Regions from separate parts of the Homo sapiens genome. Here region 1 is linked to region 2. The links are contacts of gene promoters, found by promoter capture Hi-C in blood cells and fetal thymus (Javierre and others, 2016). All regions are on one chromosome and are shown on one strand. The core of a region is centred on a gene start or on the middle of the fragment in contact, and the rest is flanking DNA. Distances in the headings are between cores, read along the strand shown. Region 1 holds the start of CEACAM7 (CEA cell adhesion molecule 7). Region 2 holds the start of CEACAM3 (CEA cell adhesion molecule 3).

What was found. The method cuts DNA at HindIII sites, captures the fragments that hold promoters and counts their contacts. A CHiCAGO score of 5 or more calls a contact.
Region 1: a contact is called between the fragment with the promoter of CEACAM7 here and the fragment with the promoter of CEACAM3 in region 2, in 4 of 17 cell types (megakaryocytes, endothelial precursors, activated CD4 T cells and 1 more). The highest score is 6.3, in megakaryocytes.

Annotation. Positions count from the first base shown.
Region 1 is chr19:41,685,036-41,689,839 of GRCh38, forward strand. CEACAM7 (CEA cell adhesion molecule 7) reads right to left here and starts at 3,235. Exons shown (of 5, transcript NM_001291485.2): 1 at 3,067-3,235; 2 at 1,824-2,186. The coding sequence starts at 3,130. The HindIII fragment of the contact is 5,666 bases long and covers 1-3,390 here.
Region 2 is chr19:41,793,740-41,798,836 of GRCh38, forward strand. It overlaps CEACAM3 (CEA cell adhesion molecule 3), which reads left to right and starts at 2,848. Exons shown (of 7, transcript NM_001815.5): 1 at 2,848-3,002; 2 at 3,850-4,209. The coding sequence starts at 2,939. The HindIII fragment of the contact is 3,675 bases long and covers 1,977-5,097 here.

The DNA.
Region 1 (4,804 bases), core at 1,985-4,484, 110 kb before region 2:
CGGAATGGACAGCAAACCCATCAGACAGCACCTGCCTAGGCCGCTGCACCTGGAGGAGGTCCCAGGAATGACTGGAGGACCTTAGCCCCACAGCGAGACGAGGATGGAGTTGGTAGTAAAATGGGTGGAATGAACCCATGGGCTTTGGGGACTGCACACCTGTCCTGCCTCTGGCCCCCTGGTGAGTCAGTGTAGAGAGCAGATAGAGGAGTTGCTCATCCCTGTCCCATGGCCAAGCATTTACACAGTCATGAGACTCAACACCTGGGTGGCTTCTTTTTTTTTTAAGATCCAGGGATCTTGCTATGTTGCCCAGGCTGGTCTTGAACTCCTGGGCTCAAGACACCCTCCTGTCTCAGTCTCCCACTGGGGTGGCTTTAGGGGCAGGGGATGAGAGAGGTGGAACATGGGTCTCAGTCCCTTGGAGGGACAGGGAACAGGTGCCAGAGCCTCCTAGGATCCTGCATCAGGTTCCAGTCTCTGAAGAGATTATGGATCATTCATTCCTTCATTCATTCCCTCCCTCCTTCATGAGAGAACTACTGAGCGAGTGTGTTTCTCACTTTGGGCCCTGGCATGTGCAGGGTGTGAGTGGGGAGAGAAAGCAAAGTCTTCTCCTTTATCCTCCTGTGGGAGTGACACCAACACATCAGGAAACACAGGATTTCAGGTCCAGTGAGGGTAGGAGTGTGAATCTAAGGGAGAGGCCTGGACATTCCCAGCACTGACTCTGATAGTTGAGGCAAGAGATTCAGTTCTAGGTAAAAACTAATTCTCTATTTGTTCCTCACTCCCTAGACCAGAATCTCCCACTTCTGGCTTGGATGCCTAGGAAGCAAGCTCTGTGGCTACAAAGACCTGGGGACTCTGATGTGACTGTCCGGTCCGTGAGACCCTGCCTCAGTGGCTGTATTTCCTTCTGCCTCAGTTTCCTTTAACAAAATGAGATAAAGCGTAAATGGTCTCTGGCTTGCCTTGCTGTCTGTGAATTTACCTTAAAATAATCACAATTACCTGGATGAGAGCCCTGTGTAGAAGAGCTGCCCAAACAAGCAGGATCTCTGATTGTTTGCCTCCAGGAGTGGGTTATTTGGACCTGATTCCTGGTGTACAAAGAACTTACAGCAGAAACTTTCTTCTTCTTTTTCTCCCCCTGAGGACACTGACTCCCCTAGGACCTCTCTTAAGTTCCTCATCCAGGGGGACTGAGGTCCTAGTAATCCTGTTCATCTGTCCTCTCCAGGCTGAGTCTCAGGTGAAGGATGAGGCTCTGTCCTTGCCCAGATGAGGCCCTGGGGGTGACCAGGCTGGTGACCAGCTCCATGAGCCATGATCCTCAAACAGCTCAAATCCTTGCTCTCAGTCAGTTCAGCCCAGGAGGCCACAACCCAGCCCTGACACAGGTTCCTTAGGGTCACCTGGAGTCAAGAGCCCTGGGACAGGGATCTGGGACTTGTGCTTCCAGGGCTGAGCTTCTCTGTGAGGATTCCAGGGGACTCCTCAGGCCAGGCTCTGACCCAGTTCTCCAGGGTCTTTTTCAGGGGGAGGGCACAGAATCTTGGCTGAGACTGATCTCCCCCTGCTGAGTGCCCCCCATCAGACTGTCCTTCCTCTGCAGCAAGTATCTGCAGGGTCTGGATGCAGGAAAGGGATTCTGGTCTGTAGAAGTTTGTCTCCCCCATGTGTGTCCTTCACTAAATGCCCAAACTCCAACACTGGATAAAATGTAGATGGGGACACAGGCACAACCCAGGCCTGACAACCCCGTGTGTATGAAGTAGAACTGGCCCCCAGCACCCAGAAGTCATGGAGGTATCACTCACAGAATACGTAGAATTGTCTGGTTACTTCTTCATTCACAAGATTTTCTTTTATAACGTGTAGGGTATAGATTCCTGCGTCATTGTGGGTGACGTTCTGGATCAGCAGGGTTCCATTGGGGTATATTGTCTCTCGACCGTTGTGTGCGGGCCCTGGGGCATTTTCTTGACTTATATTTTTTACATATCCTATAATTCGATAGTTGGCATGCACCCTTTCCCCTTTGTACCAGTTGTAGCCATAAAGATTCTGGGACTCATTATGGACTACTAGAAGGACCTCCTTCCCTTCTGCGACATTGAACGGCACGACATCAATATTGGTCTGGGCACTGTTTGGCAGGTTCCAGAAGGTTAAAAGCGAGGCTAGGAGGGGGAGAGAACATCAGTCAATATTGGGACCTATGTATTGGGGTGGAAAGATGGGGCCCTGGATCCTGAGCAGGTCTCTTCACCCACCCCCATCTTGAAGTAAGTGTGTGTGTGTGTGTGTGTGTCCTACTGGATCAATGTCAGCAGCATGTCCCCTATCAGCACCTCTGACCTTACATTTCCCTGTTCGGAATCCTCTTCCCCAGGGATCTGCAGGGCTCCCTCCATACTGCTGGACCTGCTTACATCAGGGCATCCTTGGGAGACCCCTTCCCTGACACCTTCTCTAGAAGCCCTGGGTGTTCCGTTTCTGACATTTCCCTGCTCTGTTCCCTTTAGAGCTCTTGTCAACACCTGGCTTCACATTCTAGATCTCTTTGCCTGTCTGTCTTCTGCCGCATGAGAGCGTGAGCTCTGTGAGGGCAGGGACTTGTGTGAACTGGATTGCACCCCAGTGCCTGGAACAGGCTGCAGGCTCCAGTAGATGAGTTCATGAGAGTTCCCAGGGCCCTCCCTCCACATCCTGGGGTTTATTTTCCAATGCCTGAGGTTGGTGGCTAGGGACAATGTTTTATGCCCTGGTTATGTTTTTATTTGAAGCGTCACATGATATAGTTATTATTATCATATTTCAAAATGTAGCAGCTAGTGATGATTAACCAGGAAAAGAGAACATGTGAGATTTTCTTGACCCTTTCCAATTCCAGTCCAATGTGATTTTCCTGTTCTGGTTTCCTGTCCCTGTCTGGTGTCCTCTCCCAAAGGACTTCAACAGAAGCCCTTTGTCCCCTCTCAGAGCCCCGTCCTCCCAAGGAGACCCCAGCCAGTCTCTCTGGCCCTCCTCCCACCCACTCCCAGGAAGTCCTCCCCTCACCTGTGAGCAGGAGCCCCTGCCAGGGAATGCACACTCTGTATGGACAGGCTGAAGGGGACCCCATGGTCTCTGCTGCCTGCTTGTCCTCTGTGGAGAAGAGCTTGGGCTCCAGGAACTCTCTTGTCAGGGCTGCTGTGACTGTCAGCTCTGCTGTCCTTCCTACCTCTGTGCTGAGCCTCCTCCCAGGGCAGGAGCACTTTCCAAGATCACATGGTCCAGGGGTGGGGTCTCTGCTCAGGAGTCCTCTGTCCCCTCCCCTCTCATTCCTGCCTCTTTTGTCCCTCTTCCTCTTTCCCTTTTGTCTATATTCAGTTCCCGATACAAAGCTTTGAGTAGCAAGGCTGATGGACCCCTGTCCCCTGGGAGGACAACCAACCTTTCCCAGTGCTGACCTATGCTGTGTTCTGGCCTTGGGTCTGTCACACCAGGGGGATTATTTCCCTTGTGACAGAGAAACCCAGCTGGGCCTTGGGTTTCTGCTGGGATGATGCCCAGCAGGAAGGTGACAGAGGTGGCTCTGGGGGATAGAAAGGGGCTCACTGGGGGATGACTGGGGAGGGACCAGCCCTCTGTCTCCAGTGACCCAGGCACAGAAACCAAGGCCCAGGGGTCTCAGGAGGAGCTACAGCTCCTGGGTGTGGAGGGAGGTGTCTGGTGTGTCCTGGGAAGAGAGCTGTGGTGGAGGGAGGTGTGTGGCTCTGAGCTCTGCTGTCCTTGGGGAAGGCTTCAAGGAAACCCTCCCTCTCCCTGTCTTTTGGATGTGCTGTGGCTCAGGTCCTTTCCATGTTCTACCTGACCTGGAAGCCTCTGTCTGGCTGACAGTCCTGTGGTCACCCCGCCTTCCCCATGGGTGGTGCCAGGAGGGAATGGGGAGCTGCACAGAAACCCCTGGCAGAGCGGGGTCTTCAAAGGCCCCAGGAAGGAAGAGGTGGGACACAGCAGGAACGCGTGAAAGACAAGAAGGGTCTGTTGGAGCAAGGAATGGAAACCAGGCTCCACCTTCACCACCTTAGCAAGGCCAAGTTCATGTCCAGGGGAATTACAGCTGACCTTCGAACACACAGATTTGAACACACAGGTCCACTTACATGTCGATGTTTTTTTGTTTGTTTGTTTGTTTGTTTGATTTTTGTTTTTTGTTTTTTGTTTGTTTGTTTTTTGCTTTTTTTTTTTTCCTGAGACAGAGTCTCACTCTGTTGCCCATGCTAGAGTGCAGTGGCACGATCTCAGCTCACTACAACCTCCACCTCCCGGGTTCAAGTGATTCTCCTGCCTCAGCCTCCCAAGTAGCTGGGACTATAGGCACCCGCCACCACGCCTGGTTAATTTTTGTATTTTTAGTAGAGGCGGGGTTTCACCATGTTGGCCAGGCTGGTCTCAGACTCCTGACTTCAAATGATCCACCCACCTCAGCCTCCCAAAGTGCTGAGATTACAAGCATGAGCTGCCATGCCCAGCCACATGCAGATGTTTTAAATTAAAAGTTGCACTGAGTGTGTCCCCTCCTCTTGCCTCCCCTCCACCTCTTCTACCTCTGCCATCTCTGAGACAGCAAGACCACCCTCTCCTTTCCTCCTCCTCAGCCTACTTAACCTGGAGACAAAAAAAGGATAAAAGCCTTTATGATGATCCACTGTCACTTAATGAATAGTAAATATGTTTTATCTTCCTTATGATTTTCATAGTAACATTTTATTTTCCCCAGCTTATGTTATTGTAAGAGTACAGTATATAATAT
Region 2 (5,097 bases), core at 1,598-4,097:
ACTTTTCATTTTTCAGACTTTCAAAAATATTGTAAAAATAGTCAGAGTTCCAGTATATCCTTCATCCAGCTTTTTCAAATAACCTTAACTCTAAAGCAATTATCAAAATCAGTCACCTAGCATTGATACAAAAAATTTTAAAATATAGAAATATGGGGCCGGGCACGGTGGCTCACGCCTTTAATCCCAGTACTTTGGGAGGCCAAGGAGGGTAGATCACGAGGTGAGGAGATCGAGACCATCCTGGCTAACACGATGAAACCCCGTCTCTACTAAAAATACAAAAATTAGCCAGGCGTGGTGGCAGGTACCTGTAATCCCAGCTACTCGGGAGGCTGAAGCAGGAGAATCTCTTGAACTCAGGAGGTGGGGGTTGCAGTGAGCCCAGATCGAGCCACTGCACTCCAGCCTTGGCGACAGAGTGAGACTCTGTCTCCAAAAAAAAAAAAAAGAAATATTAAAATTTTGCTAATCATCCCAGTCATGTCTTTTTTCTGCTCCAGAGTCCAACCCAGGATCCCACACTGAATAACACTGTCACATTTCCTAGGCCTCCTCCAACCTGGGGGAGTTTCCCACTCTTTCCCTCTCTCAGGACCTTGATGCTTTTGAGGAGGTCTGGTCAGTTGTTTTGTAGAATGCCCCTCAATTTGGGTTTGTCTCATGTTTCCTTGGGATGTTTCAGGTTATGCATTTTGGGCAAGATTAGCACAGAAGCGATGTGTCTTTCTCAGGACATCCCAGCCGGAGCCCCAGGATGTCTATATCTCTCATTACCGATGAGGTTCACTTTAAGCGCTTGGTTCAGGTGGTGTCTGCCAGGTTTCTCTACTGTGAAGTTACTATTCATCTCATTGTAATTAATAAGTATCTTGTGGACAGGTACTTTGGAAATATGCAAATAGCCAGTTTGTTCTTAGCATACTTTTACCAATTAATTTCTAGAATCCAGAGATAATTGTAGCCGATAAACAATTCTTACTGTGGTGTTAGCCAGTGATTTTCTGCTTCCATCATTGCTTCTACACTGATTAACTGGAACGCTGCTGTAAGAAAGAGCTAGTTCTTCTTTCTCATTTATTTATGTATTCACTTATTTATATATATATCAGCATGGACTCTCAAGTATTTATCGGTTGGACTACATTACTATTATTATTGATTATGTTGCTATATTGTCCCCAAATTGGCCATTGGGAGCTTCTTCTAGTTGGCATTTGTGATACTTTCCACACATCCCCATCATTTTTCAAGTTGTGCCTTACTCTCAGGCCCCGCAAGATGCTCCAGTCTCCTCTTGTGGTTTCCTGCCCCAGCCCTGGAATCAGCCATTTCTCCAGGGAACCCTGGTTCCTTTCATGGGAGAATGATGTTTACAGACCATGGGCGCCCATATGCCCATTGCTAGTAGGTGCCGGTGCTTCTATGCCCTCTAGTGGTCAGAGCTGGGAAATAACACACCCACACTAGTGTACTGTTACCCACATTTCACAAATTAGGTAAATGAGGCACAGAAAAGTTAGGCAACTTGACCAACATCACAGAGAAAATAGGTAGTGGAACTGGGAAATGAAAATAATGACAGATGCACCACAAGTTCTAACAAGCAAAAGTAGCTTTTTCACACATCCACATCAGCAGAAAGCCACAAGCCCAATATTCCGGCGTAGACACTCTTTGAAAACCAGAATTCCACAGCAATAACCACGATGACAACCACCATGTACTCAACACCCGCCTGGGCACGGGGCTCCCACAGCAGCTCACTTATTCCCAACAACTCTGCAAGGAGGATTTTACCATCCTCCTTTTACAAATCAGGGAATCAAGGATCATAGAAGCCACGTGACTTGTCCAAGTCAACATAGTTAAGTGACAGAACCATTAGCTGTCCCCAGGTACATCTGGACATAAAGTTCATGTTTATGCCACTGTGTCAGCATTTCCAAAAACTGATTTTAGGCGAAACGTAAGTAAGCTTTTTAAAAACTTTAATACTTATGCGTTTATTTTAATATACATTGAGAAAACATTTAAGCACACATCAAATCTGTAATTTCATGGACAATATTGCATAAGACAAGGATGTTTTGTCTCCAACTCCTGGCCTCAAGCCATCCTCCCACCATAGCCTCTCGAGTAGCTGGGATCACAGATCTGAGCCACCGATCCCTGCTAGGACAGGATGTTTTGTAAACTAAATTTATTTAGAAAAAAGGATGAAATATATAATAATAAAGGTGGTACAAGCTAGAGAGAAAATCATAAAGTCAGCCTAGAAATGTCTGGTGTCTGGATGACATAAAGCTACAGCACTGTGAAGCCTCATTCTCAGTTACTCCCAGGAAATTAGAGTCACATAATGCTGCAGAAAGAACAGCTCAGAATCTTAGATCCGGGCTTTAGCCCTAGATATATCCATTTGTAGGACCCCAGACATCTCTGTGACCTCCTTGCTGGGAGTAAATCCAACCTTCCCAGACATGTGAGAACAGTAAGAAGACCCTGCACACACAAAGGAGTTTCTCCGTCACAGAGAAAATAACACCAGGTTCAGGGACCCCAGGGACTCTGCATGGTGCTGACAGACCCAAGGCCAAGGCAGAGCAGAGGTCCACGCTGGGGAGGGAGGGTCATCCTGTTATGAAACAGGGATCCAAGTAAGCCTTGCTTCTCAGAGCCTGGTCTGGGGAACTCAAATGTAGACAGAAGGGAGAAAGGAAGAAGAGAAAATGAGGCAAAACTGAGAGGGGAGGGGACAGAGAGGTGACCTGGGCAGAGCTTCACCCATGACCCTGGAAAGTGCTCCTGCCCTGGGAGGAGGCTCAGCATGGAAAGAGGAAGGACAGCAGAGCCTAAGTCACAGTAGCCCTGACTACAGCATTCCTGGAGCCCAGGCTCTTTTCCACAGAGGAGGAAAGAGCAGGCAGCAGAGACCATGGGGCCCCCCTCAGCCTCTCCCCACAGAGAATGCATCCCCTGGCAGGGGCTTCTGCTCACAGGTGAGTGGAGGATTCCTGGGAGTGGGCAAGAGGAGGGATCACAGAGAATGGCTGGGGTCTCCTGGGGAGGATGGGGCTCTGATAGGGGACAGAAGGCTTCTGCTGAAGCCTCAGGGGAGAGAACATCAGAGAGGGACACGGGTCACAACAAGACAATCACATTGAACTGGGATTGATAAGAGGGAGGAAAATCCATTGATCATGTTTTCCAAGTTAATCATTACTGGCCACTACAATTAGAAAATGATAAGAATAAGAATTACATCAGGGTGATACTTTAAATAAAAATATAACCAGGGCACTAAAACCTGTCTTTGACCACCAACCACAAGTTGCAAAATAACCACCACTCCTTAACTCATCCACCAGTATTTGCAATCAAATTTTAGGCACTGGCGTACAACAAATATCAGACAAGTCTCTGTGTTCAAAGAGCTTACACTCTTGCAGAGATGAAGATAGACACCCAAAGAGATCTAGAATGTGAGTTCAGGTGTTGACAAGAGCCCTGGAGGGAACAGAGCAGAAAAAGGTCAGAAAGGGAAGACCCAGGGTCTCTAGAGGAGGTGTCAGGGGAGGGATCTCCCAAGGATGCCCTGATGTGAGCAGGATCTGAGGGCAGTGGGGAGGGAGCCATGCAGACCCCTGGGGAAGGGGATTCCACACAGGAAAATGCCAAGGTTAGAGGTGCTGAAGAAAGAAAGGTCACGTTACTGACCTTGACCAAGTGGGACACACATACACTCTCCAAGGCTGAAGGGTGAAGAGACTCTCTCAGGACCCAGGGCCCCATCTTTCCATCCCAATACATGGGTCCCAATATTGACTGATGCTTTCTCCCTCCTAGCCTCACTTCTAAACTTCTGGAACCCGCCCACCACTGCCAAGCTCACTATTGAATCCATGCCGCTCAGTGTCGCAGAGGGGAAGGAGGTGCTTCTACTTGTCCACAATCTGCCCCAGCATCTTTTTGGCTACAGCTGGTACAAAGGGGAAAGAGTGGATGGCAACAGTCTAATTGTAGGATATGTAATAGGAACTCAACAAGCTACCCCAGGGGCCGCATACAGCGGTCGAGAGACAATATACACCAATGCATCCCTGCTGATCCAGAATGTCACCCAGAATGACATAGGATTCTACACCCTACAAGTCATAAAGTCAGATCTTGTGAATGAAGAAGCAACTGGACAGTTCCATGTATACCGTGAGTATTTCCACATGACCTCTGGGTGTTGGGGGTCAGTTCTACTTCCCACATATGGGATTGTCAGGCCTGGGCTGTGCCTGTGGCCCTCTCTGCATTACATTCTGTATCAGGGTTTGGACATTTAGTGCAGGACACACACGGGGGAGACAAACTTCCACAGATCAGAATTCCTTTCCTGCATCCAGACCCTGCAGACACTCGCTGCAGAGGAAGGACAGTCTGATGGGGGGACTCAGCAGGGCAAGGTCAGTGTCAGAAAAGAACCCCATGGTCTCCCCATGGACCTGACCCTAAGAAAGACCCTGGAGAACTGGATCAGGGCCTGGCCTGAGGGGTCCCCCTAGGATTCTCAGAGAGAAGCTCAACTCTTCCCAGAACTGAGCCCCTGTGCAAATCCCTGTCCCAGATTCCTGACTCCAGGTGACCCTGGGGACCCTAGGGATCCTGTGCCAGGGCTGAGTGAGGCCTCCTGGGCAGGGCTGACTGGGAGCAAGAATTTACCAGCTGTCTGAGGGTCGTGGCTCCTGGAGTTGGTCACCAGCCAGGGTCCAGCCCCAAGAACCTCTCCTGGGCAAGGACAGGGCCTCATCCTTTACCTGAGACTCAGCATGGAGTGAACAGATGGACAAGATTACTAGGGCATGAGCCCACTGCCCAGGGGAACTTAGATGACTCCATGGGAAGTTCAGTATCCCCAGGGGGAGGAAAAAGAAGAGAGAAGATGCTCCCAGCAGCTCCTTTTCCACAAGGGATCAGACTCAGGGACCTCTCTTTTGGAGGCAAATAAGCATAGATGCTGTTCCTTTGGGCAGCTCCTCTATACACAGCTGAGGTCAAGTAATTGTAAATATTTTGAGATTAATTCACAAACAACGTCACAGCCAA